Linked DNA regions of Homo sapiens: region 2 is linked to region 1. The links are contacts of gene promoters, found by promoter capture Hi-C in human tissues and cell types (Jung and others, 2019). All regions are on one chromosome and are shown on one strand. The core of a region is centred on a gene start or on the middle of the fragment in contact, and the rest is flanking DNA. Distances in the headings are between cores, read along the strand shown.

What was found. Contacts are between HindIII fragments. The study calls those that stand out against the background at their distance.
Region 2: a contact is called between a fragment that was not itself captured here and the fragment with the promoter of FLRT2 in region 1, in 4 of the 25 tissues and cell types used here (H1 embryonic stem cells, heart left ventricle, hippocampus and 1 more).

Annotation. Positions count from the first base shown.
Region 1 is chr14:85,528,066-85,533,428 of GRCh38, forward strand. FLRT2 (fibronectin leucine rich transmembrane protein 2) reads left to right here and starts at 2,079. Exons shown (of 2, transcript NM_013231.6): 1 at 2,079-2,469. It overlaps FLRT2-AS1 (FLRT2 antisense RNA 1), which reads right to left and starts at 3,594. Exons shown (of 2, transcript NR_184170.1): 1 at 552-3,594. The HindIII fragment of the contact is 3,489 bases long and covers 525-4,013 here.
Region 2 is chr14:84,982,862-84,988,224 of GRCh38, forward strand. No RefSeq gene overlaps it. Among named protein-coding and RNA genes, the nearest start is that of SNORD3P3, 290 kb to the right of the region's middle. The HindIII fragment of the contact is 3,980 bases long and covers 647-4,626 here.

The DNA of each region.
Region 1 (5,363 bases), core at 829-3,328:
CCCACTTCTCTTATGGATCAGTGAGTTTCCTAATAAAAATAAAGTAACCTAATTGTTATAGTTTTCTAAGTCTGCAAAATTATTGCTCTTTGGAGTCCCTGAGCCACATTTCCTATTCGTTTGCTTCCTCTGGCCCCATCATCACACATTTCTAAAGCTGACTCATAGGTCATGTGCATAAGAAATTTGTTACAACGATTCTGCTTGTACTTTGGCGTGATATTTTTTCTTACTTAATTTTCCTTGTCGTGATTACAATAGATGCAACCAATAGCTTTTAATAGGTGGCACATACTCATAACATGGTTTGCTCATGGTTTAGAAACACCAATAATTTAAAGTATGAATTCTGTAAATCTGCAACCACCCCCTCCCCCATTTTCAATCTCATTCATTTTCTAGCAGCATAAATCAGAAAGCAAAACCTTTGTTGCTTTAAAGATCCTGCTTTGCCTTTTTAAAATGTGTTCTTAAAGATGAAATAATTATGCTGCTTTCCTGGATCAAGATTTCAAAGGAAGAACCTCCTGCGGATACTTATGTACACTTACATACGAAAATGGATGTTTAAATGCAGGTAGATGAGTATTTGTCCTAAAATGTGATCTTCCTTGTTGATGCTGGAGCTTGAGGAGCTATCCCTATGCTCTGCTGCCACCTTGGAAACTCAGAAGGATTTACAACGGAGTTCTGCACAGGGGAAGCTGGAAGCAGCATTCCCACAGCCTCTTCTGGGGCTGGCAAGGCTCAGAGAGGCATTTGAAATGGCTATTATTGACACCCATAGACTTGGGTATGTTTCAGAGAGAAACTATAACATCTATCTCATGGGAAAACACACTTTCTCTGTTTTTAAATAACTCCGTTTCAGCAAGATCCATGTGTGTAGCCTCTGAATACTCTATAAAGGCTCCGTATTTCTTTCTTTCTTTCCTTAGTCCGGAATGGAGACAGAAGAAAGATTCGGTTGAAGATGTCCCTGTGTGGATCTCAGTTTGCGCTCTGAGCGACGTCCTGGCTCATTTGGGTGTGACGGTGAGAGCAGAGGCGCTCTGCTGACAGTTTTTTCTTGTCTAAGCTTCCATTCCGCATCCACAATATGACTCGCCTTCCACTCCAGTTAACTTCTTGGAAGTCCAGAGCACTTAGTCAAAGCTGTTTACAAAATGCAAAGCATCTGGGCGGCCAAGGCAGAGGCTCCTGTGTTCTCTATGTAACCGCCTCCAAAAAAGCTGGGAAATTTCGCGGATCAAAATGTAGGCGCTTAAAGCTGACCCTCTGCTGTCAATGTTGGGACTTAGATACATTTTTTGCATCGTCATTCTTGTGTGTGTTTCCCGTTTATTCCATTCTAAGGCTCAGGCTCGCGCTGTTTCTCTCGCGCGCGCTGTCCCCTCTCTCCATTTCCCATTCACACATCAAACTCCGTCCTCCGCACCCCTATCTTCCCGTGTCTTCTTAGTTATGTGAATGTGTGTCATTAGGCTTACTCGGACACTGGATGGGTGAGTGGGAGGCAGCTTTTCTTGCGGTTTCATTTACACTTGGCATGGGTGGGTGGGTGCCCTCCACAATTCGTCTCGCACACGGAACACAGTTAAAATCTGTAGCTAGAACGAGTGAAAAGTTCCGAATCTTTAAAGCGCAGCTAGGACAGGAAATAATACAGGGTTGGGGGATGTGGACGGGGGCGGAGAGCAGAGAAGTAAAGGAATAAAACCAACTTCGCTGGCAACTTCAATAAATCCGGTAACTGGAGGCAAAAAATAGACTCCGAGGGCTGGGTCTGGTCCGGATGAAACGCTAGGGCTCCTTCCCTTCCTTGAATCTTGGGCGCTGGAAGCCAGCCACGGGCGTCTTGCCACGCGAGTGCCCCTAGACAGCAACACACCCACTGGAAACGCACGTGAACAAAGCTCTCGCCCCCGGGAGCCGCTGCCTGCGGTTTCCTAGTCGATCCCAGCTTCTCTAGGGAGTGTCAGGCGCACACAGGGTTAAGTTAGTTCCCTCCCTGGTAGGAGGGAGAGGAGGAGGAGGGGAAAAGCAGCATACTGTCTCAGGCTGGGTACCTTGTAGTTAGTTGTACGTTCGAAACCTGTCGCCGTCACTTGCGCGTTTGGCATTATCCATTGTCACCGCGGAGGAACGAGCGCTCGAGATATCATCAGTGCCCGCAAATCTCCGCGCCAAGGCGCTGAGCTACTCCTTTCCGAGGTGCGCCTCTGGTCCTCCGTCCCTGGTGCCCAGCAGCGGCGAGGCGGCATCTCCGCTCCCGCCGCCGTGTCCACCGAGCCCTGGGATCAGGGTGGCAGTTCTCAACGATGGGCAGGAGGGACCTCGGCGGCGACCCCTAAAACAATACCATGCCCCGGGATCCCCGCTGCTGCCGCGCCAGCGTCTTCCCTTTCCACCTCCCTGACCCTGTCGGATTCGGATGAGCCCATTGCAAGGAGAAGACGCAGCCGTCAGGTAAAAGGGGCTGCGTTGCCAGGTGAAGTTTCCAGTAACCGGCCGAGCTGCTGCTACGCTGGCACCACGCTGTCTCTTCGGGGGATTTTTTTTTTTTGAAAGAGCTGGGGGTGGTCATCTTAAGTGGGGTGCTCTAGGCTTTGTCTTTCACCTGGAGAGAAAATAGGCAGCTTAGCTCTCTCTCGACTTTGGGGACATCTGTCTGCTGGTCGAATCCACCTCCTCTACGGAGCATCATGACTGAGTTCTGGGTCAAAACGCAAATTTTCTTGCCTGGTAGATGCATCGATGCTAAATTGGGGTTCTCAGTGCCCCTAACCTTGTCAGAGTTCAGTCTCCTACTTCCCTAGATTGAATCTCTTAACTTTCACCAGTAACAACCCTCTCCCCTCCACAAGCTGTTGTTAATGTCACCAGCGTTATTATCAGGCTGTTGTATCTAAAGACACCAACCTACTACCTGCCCGTAATCTGGGATCTATTAGCAGTTAAACAGATGCGGTGGATACTAATTCCTTTTCCTTCCAGTTGGTGGGGGCGGGTGGGGCTTTTTCCAAAACCAAGTCCCTTCCAGCCCTGCTTGTCCTCTTCGGGCTGGCGGGCACTGAGCTGGGGCCATCACGCCTTTCTAGAGCGCCTGCGGAGGTGGCGAAGGCTTGGAGAGCATACGAGGCGGAATCCGGATCGAGTGAGTTCCTTGAGCCGCTTGCGTGGGACGCAGGGAGAGGGCGAATAACGCCCTCAGGCGCTGAATGCAGGGGCAAGGAGCCAGCGAGGGTGGCTGGAGCAGGCCTTGCCAGCTGTTACCAAGTCTCTCCACAGGCTTGGGGGCTTGGGGCCTCCTGGAAAGATCCCTCCGCCGCGCTGACCAGTACGGGGCTCGCTCCCGCACTTTGAAGGCTGCCGCGGTCTTTCGTCATTTATAATCAAGCCCAAGATCAAGGTTGCAAGCTGAGGTCGGGGTACTGACAACGGGAATGAAGCCATAGGGGAAGAGGATAACTGGGACGGGCTGGACCCATACTTGATACCCGGGAAACTCCTAGAGCGTGTGGTGCTCCTGCCAGCGGCAGTTACTGGTGGAGCTGAGGCCACCGCTACTGTCGTCGTTGGCGCTTTGCTTCTGGAACCTCCCAGCAAGATGGCACTCACTGTCTGTTCCCTTCCGATTAGCACCCCCAGCCGCGCTCCCTCCTCCCCGGGATACGTATTAGTCACATACTGTGGGGAGAAGATGGGCTATGTAAATGTAAGTCAACGCGCTTTCCCAGCCACCTTTGCATAATGCAACAGGAACAGCGACCCGCGCGCACGAACCGGGTAGTGTGCGCGTGTGTGTGCTCGCGTGTGTGAGCGCGTGTGCCAGCGTGCGTCTCCGCGCGGGCGTGCGTCTGGGTGGATCCTTGCGTGGCTTGGGAGGCAAATCGGGCGTTTCTCCAAGTCGTCTTAACATGATTTAGGCTCTCAAATACGTGAAAGCGGTAGACACAACAGGGATGCGAAGGAAATAAAAAACAATTGGGGAAGTGGTGCCAAGTCACTCAGGCTTTGAACTGAGGACGAGTAGTGCGGTCGCGCCTGGGGCGCGTCCGGAAATCATCCTCAGCCTGTGGCGGCCACTGCCCCACTTAAACTCTTCTGCGGGGAGAGTTGAGCGGATCCCTGGGGGGTTGGTCCTGGGCTAGTTTTAAACTCTCCGGTTGCATCTCGCGTGGCCCCACCGACGGCGCGTCTCGGCGTAGCTCTTGGCGCGGGCTCGTTCTCCCTCTTCTGTTCAGATTCAGCCTCACCGGACTTGTTACAACATGACAGCAACTTACTGGAGGCAGGAAGAGCAGCACGAAATAAGATGAGAAAACCAAAAACATCTCCTCCTTCCTAAATAGAGACGTGCACCTAGCTTTTTTTACTTGTTTGTTTGTTTTTTACATTACCCTTTAACCTTTGGAAAGAGACTGCGAAGTGGAAACGTTGCCTGTACAGAAATCAGGCTTCTTAGCTGTCAAGACTGTTTCCTAATCTTTAGGCTGAATCTTTCTTTGTCCGCTGCAATCTATGGGGAAATTTAACAACGCTCTTGCCAGAAGCAGCCAGGTTGAAGGAAGAAAGTGGGGGTGTTTAAATTAATCCTATTAAATTTTGGATTACTCCCCCAGTTAAAGTCATTTAAGGTGGTCCAGGATGAGGGAACTAGTGATGGGGTGAGGAGTGGGGGGCACATCACCAAGGTTGCCTGCATTTGAAATAACGCCATTTTGGTTGAGAGGTTTGCTGTATTTTACCCTCTAATCTCACATTTCGATCATTTCTCAGTGTCTAAGTAATAGATCCTCCCTCTTGGCAGTACACCATTAAGCAGGTATGGGGAATTCTCCTTTCAGGGTTCAGATGGTGACATTATCCCTAAGGACTGGTGGTAGGAACGGCATGTGCCGGGTAGATAGAGAGAAGGTCAGGGTGGCATCTGCCGGGTTAGCCAGGCGCTCTTCAACTCTTTTCAGAGAGGACAGGGTTAAAAGCCAAGTCTGACTTTGCCTCTTGGAAATCACTGGGTAGCAGCCGCGCCTCCCAAGCATTCTTTAAACCAGAAAAGTAGGAGGGACTCCGGGAGAGAGGGAGGGAATGAGGGAGGGAGAGAAAGAGGGCTCCAGGAGCGGAGCGCGCCAGAGCGCGAGGGACGGAGGGAGAGGAGGAGCGCGGGAGCTGCGGAGGCGATCCCGCGAATTCATTACTGTAAACATATCCGGGGGTGTCAGGAGGGGTAGGGGTGGGGGCCGCGGCGCCTACATTAGCCCGGCCGCGTCGGATTGAGGCAGTAGTGTGGTCTGAGCAGCCTCCAGACCCACGCCGGGCGGGCGCAGCACTTGGAGCGAGCCCTGCGCCCGCCCCCGCGC
Region 2 (5,363 bases), core at 1,387-3,886, 540 kb before region 1:
ATAGAGAAATGGGGAAAAATAAACAGCACTTGAGTCCCTTGTTCAGCTTTATGTGGAAAAGTAACATCTGTAAAATGTAGGGAGAAAAATGTTAAAGAAATAGGGATTGACAATTTGTAAGAGCTATCTCTTCCTATCAAAGTTTATTCTTAATTTGAGCCTTTGCTCTTCTTGGTATAATAAGTTATATAAGCTTCTTACTTTCTAGATAAAATAGAAAAGGAAAAATAAATGAATGTTCACTAAATATATACTATATTTCAACCACCCGGCTATTTGATTTTTCATATATGAATTTGTAATAAAGCTGCAAAGTAAGTAGTATTTTTGTTTTAGCCCACTCCAAAGCTGTGGCTTTGAAAGAATGTGCTTATGGACACAAAACTAGTAGGTCTTGATGTATAATTCAAACATGATTTCATCTGACTCAAAGCTCATGTATATTGCAGTTATCTATTACTTTCCTTTATACTTAATATTTTTGAGACTTAAGAGTAATCCTTTATTTCTATTATGTGTTTAGTATATAGGCCTGTGTTTACTATGTCATATGAGTAGACATTCAATTTTAAGAAGTCCTCTTCAATTGGTTGACATTGTTCTTCAGACCTGGCTGGGGTGGGCAAAACAGGTGAAAAGTTCCAGTACTTGTTATCAATTAGGGAATTATAAGGATTGAGAAACACCTGTTCAAATGCAAATATTCTAGAAATTGTTAAATCTAGAGTAGAATATGTTAATTGGAAATGGAGTGGTTTTTGTATTATGATGTATTTGAATTTTTTGCTCACTGAAAGAAGCAGAGGGACATTTACATGAAGGGCAGGATCCAATCCCTACAAATTCTTTCTTTGTTCTAAGTAAGACTAGGCAATGCACAGGTGATATAGTACAAGATCTGGGGAGCTAAAATCAATCTTGGAGACAAAATTCTGGCATTGGGGTTTGAGAAGGTGAATTTTATCAGCCTATAGGGAAAATTTTTATCTTGTATACATAAAGAGAAAGGTAGATGAGATAAAATAGGACCAGGGAAGAAAATGTATAATGGAGGAGGCTTAAGACCAATATTTTTATTAATTTTTAATTTTTTCTAAAGCTTGATGAAAACCATATGTATTAGTCCATTGTCATGCTGCCTAATAAAGACATACTCAAGAATGAGTAATTTATAAAGGAAAGAGGTTTAATGGACTCACAGTTCCACATGACTAGAGAGGCCTCACAAACATGGTGGAAGGTGAAAGAAGAGTAAAGGCATGTCTTACATGGTGGCAGGCAAGACAGCGTATGCAGGGCAACTCCCTTTTATAAAACCATCAGATCTCGTGAGACTTATTCACTCCCATGAGGACAGCATGGGAAAAAGCCCACCCCCGTGATTCAGTTACCTCCCGCCGGGCCCCTTCTACAACATTTGGGAATTATTACAACTCAAGGTGAGACTTGGGTGGGGACACAGTGCCAAACCTTATCACCTTAGTATCACTAAGAGCTATCTAGTGTGATGTGAAGTTTTTAAATATGGCTGCCTCCCCATCTCCACTGCTCTGCCATTAGTCAATGTACATTGGTAGAATGCAAAGGAATATTTCCGCCTTTAAAAAGTTATTGCTTCATGTAGTTGCCTGTCTCAAATTATTTTACCATCATTGGTTAATCCTTCCCACATCTCAGAGTGTCTCAGATATTTGTGAAAATTTCAGATTCCTTTGCTACTCCCTACTGAATCAGACTATCTGATAGCACTCCAGGAATCTACGTGATAGTAAGCTTCCCTGCTGATTCTAGAACACACAAATATTTTAGAGCCACTAGTTCAGTTGATCTCTTCGCTGGGCTTTTCTAGCTCTGTTATTTCCTTTTAGAAGTGCAGTTATAAGACATCTACATATGGCCCAGGGTTAGCCTCATCAGCACACCCCCAGTAGGAAATTAGAGAGGTTTGGAAAACTTCACTGGACATATTTACGTGGTAGATTATCTCACACTTCTGGAGGTATTTAGTGGACTTATGAATAATTGGCCATATTAGAATCTAGGCATTCTCATTAAGACTAGCATATCCAGCAAACAGAATAAATCAAGCCTAAGGAGAACCAGGTCAACTCTGTATTAGTTTGTTTTTACACTGCTATAAAGAACGACCTGAGACTGAGTACTTTATGAAGAAAAAATCAATTCACACTTCCACATGGCTGGGGAGGTCTCAGGAAACTTACAATTATGGTGGAAGGCAAAGGGGAAGAAAAGCATATTTTCTCATGGTGACAGAAGGAGGACATAGGATATGTGCCACACACTTTCAAACAACCAAACCTCATGAGAACTCACTATTACCAGAACAGCAAAGGGGAGGTCCTCCCCATGATTCAATCACTTCCCACCAGGCTCCTCTCCCAACATGTGGGGATTGCAATTCAACATGAGATTTGGGTGAGGACACAGAGCCAAACCATATCAAACTCTAAGTTTGGTGGTGGAATTACAGCAACAACAGTGGAGATGACATATGGACATAGCCATGGAGATGGATGCAAGATCAACTCATGAGATCACCACTACCATTTCGAGATATGTATATGGATTCACACAAAAATGCCTGTGCATATAATTATCTCCTTTTTATAAAAGCAGAAATGGAAAGCTGCAGAAATCATCTCAGAAACAAATTGACCTTCACAGAATTATATAACTATCAAGGAGAAAAGCCAAGGCCCTTTTCCATTTGAATACTGTTATTTCATACAACTGAAAAATTGTATTTCTGTTTGATGTGCCTCTTCCCTCCTGATGATGCCTGATATTGTTGGACTTTTGGAAAATATTAATAGAGACAGATGTCTCTAAGAAACTGGAGTTCCCTAGGACTCTGGTTCTTGAGTTGTTTACCAAGAATATCAGTTACTTGCTAATTATATTTGGGGAAAAAAGGAAATTAATCTACAGGAAATAATAACAATAATATCACATCTTTTGATCATTGGTGGGACTAACTCTAATGTTCTAAGGAACAATTCTCTCTTGATTCATTCAGAATTTAATTTTGTTGAAAGTCCCATTGAATCATAATTAATGCTACAAAAGCACGATTTAACAAGAGCTTTGGGGTAGCCTTTTAAATATATGGTAGCTAATTAACTATAACTATACAATTTACAAACACATCTATTGAAGACTTGAAACTATGAGTAGATATATCCATCTTTTTCGTGCAGTAGCTATTACATCATAAAATTATTTTCAGTCGTTTGCTGATATTTTAAGACTTTCATTATAGTTAGATAATGTGCTTAAGACAAAATTTTTCTTCCTTTAAAATGACAGGAAATGACATTTAAGCTTTTGATAAATGTTACTTTATGACACTTGGAAACTAAAACTGACTGGGGATATAAAATGCTTATAAAATTCAAACAAAAAGTTTCTTCCAGTAACTGGCACTCTTTCCCAGTGCAGAAAGGCCCTAAGTTTTAATGATATCAACAGACAGAACACAATTATCTGTGAAGAAAAAGCTTAAATAATGACTCTGCCTTTTGCATGCCAAAAGCCACTATAATGAAAAAATTCTCACATTGTGTGTGTTTCTGTGTGTGATTTTAGTTGCTTATTGTCATTGTATTTTCAGCACTTGAGAACAAGGATTTAGCCTGGTTATTCTTTGTGGGCACAGCTCCTTACTTGTGCCAGCTCATAGTTTATGTTCAATAAACATGTGCCATTTGATTAACTGGTTATTAACTTGGCTGTTATTACAGTGTATGGTACCATTCAGCACCACTCAAAAACTCACATGAATGGAGGAAGAGTTGGCGTAGTAGTGGCAATGCACAGACATTACATACCTAAAGAAATAGACCTCTAAGTCTGTGCCCCAATTTGGCTGTATCAAACTTTTTGTTTGCTTGTTTTACTTAAGGGTAAATATTGATTTATTGAGTTTATAACCTGTACACAGATCCTGAGTGAAGTGTGTAAAATATATCCTTTCACTTAAATCTCACAGAAACCTCTATGGGAAGTATAATATCCTCAGTTTTATAGGTAAAGATACTTATATTCAAAGGGGCTAAGCAATTTGTTCAAGGTCAGAATCACTTAATTCAGGGGAAAAAATGACAGCAAGAGAAAATTATGGTGGCATGGCCAGCCCACAGTTCTCTTTACAGTCCATCAATTTCACCTCTTTATGTTAGCATAACATTTTCAGGCTACGATTCTGAAATGAGAGGTCAAAAGAAGAGTTGATAATAAAGCAACCTGAGATTTTTAAATTCACTCTGACTTCTAGTGTTTGCTGACTCTGACCATATCTTATTCTACTTGTGAGCTTAACTTCCTGGGTTCCCTGGTACACCTTCCTCCTAGATTTCTGAGATCATTTTCCTGTTATGTCACCTGAGGCCCTTCAGATTAGAACTTCAATCCCATGACCTTCACCAATTGCTCTGACATGGATTCATTTTTACTGCTTTGTGTAATGTTCTGCTTTTGTTCTTAACATTGAGCAATGCACCAACTACAAGGAATTTATTAATTTAATGCAAAGTATTGTGGTTTTTGCAATGAAAAGTAATAGCAAACCTGCAATTATTTTTTCACCAATCTTTACGACTCAAGAGAAAGACTCGAAGTATTTTTCCCTAAAACAAGTAAACAACAACAAGAGCCCCTGGCTAACACTGAAATTGAACGTTGACTTTATTTCTGTATCTGGGGGATTCTGATTCTTGTTCTTAGTTGTATGTTCACTTTGAGAAGTGCTTGCTTCCTCTCTGCTCTTCTTCTCTCCCTAACATTTCATATGCAACTATTGTGTTTTACTTCCATCCTTAGTTCTCTTCTTTCCATATGACTTCTCCCTTTTTTGTGCTATTCGCAACAGTTTAAATTATTCAATTTTAGCAATAAAGCCCAAAATACCAGGAGACTACTTAATAAAATAATTTTGTCCCTAGAAAGAATTTTCCTGAGCTAAACTCTAAAGTATTTACAGTGAGTCTTAATACTAAGTAAGAATAGGAGAATGGTGGTGATAGTAATCTAATAAACAACAAACATTTATTCAGTGACTTAATAAGTGCCTGGCACATTGCTAAGTATTTTATATGCATTCTTGTTTTTTTAATTTGTATAACTTTCAGATAGATACAACCACTGTTCCAAAAATGTGGAAACAAGCTGAAAAAAAAATCTAGTTCATTGTCTAAGATCATCCTATTGAGTCAGGATTCAAACCTATGCTTGTCTAAATCTAAACACAGAGCTATTAGCCACTAAAAGTGACCTCCTGGATCTTAGTATCCCTCTCTATACCAGTGTTTTTCTTTCTTTTACTGGAAGAAAATAAGACTTGTGTA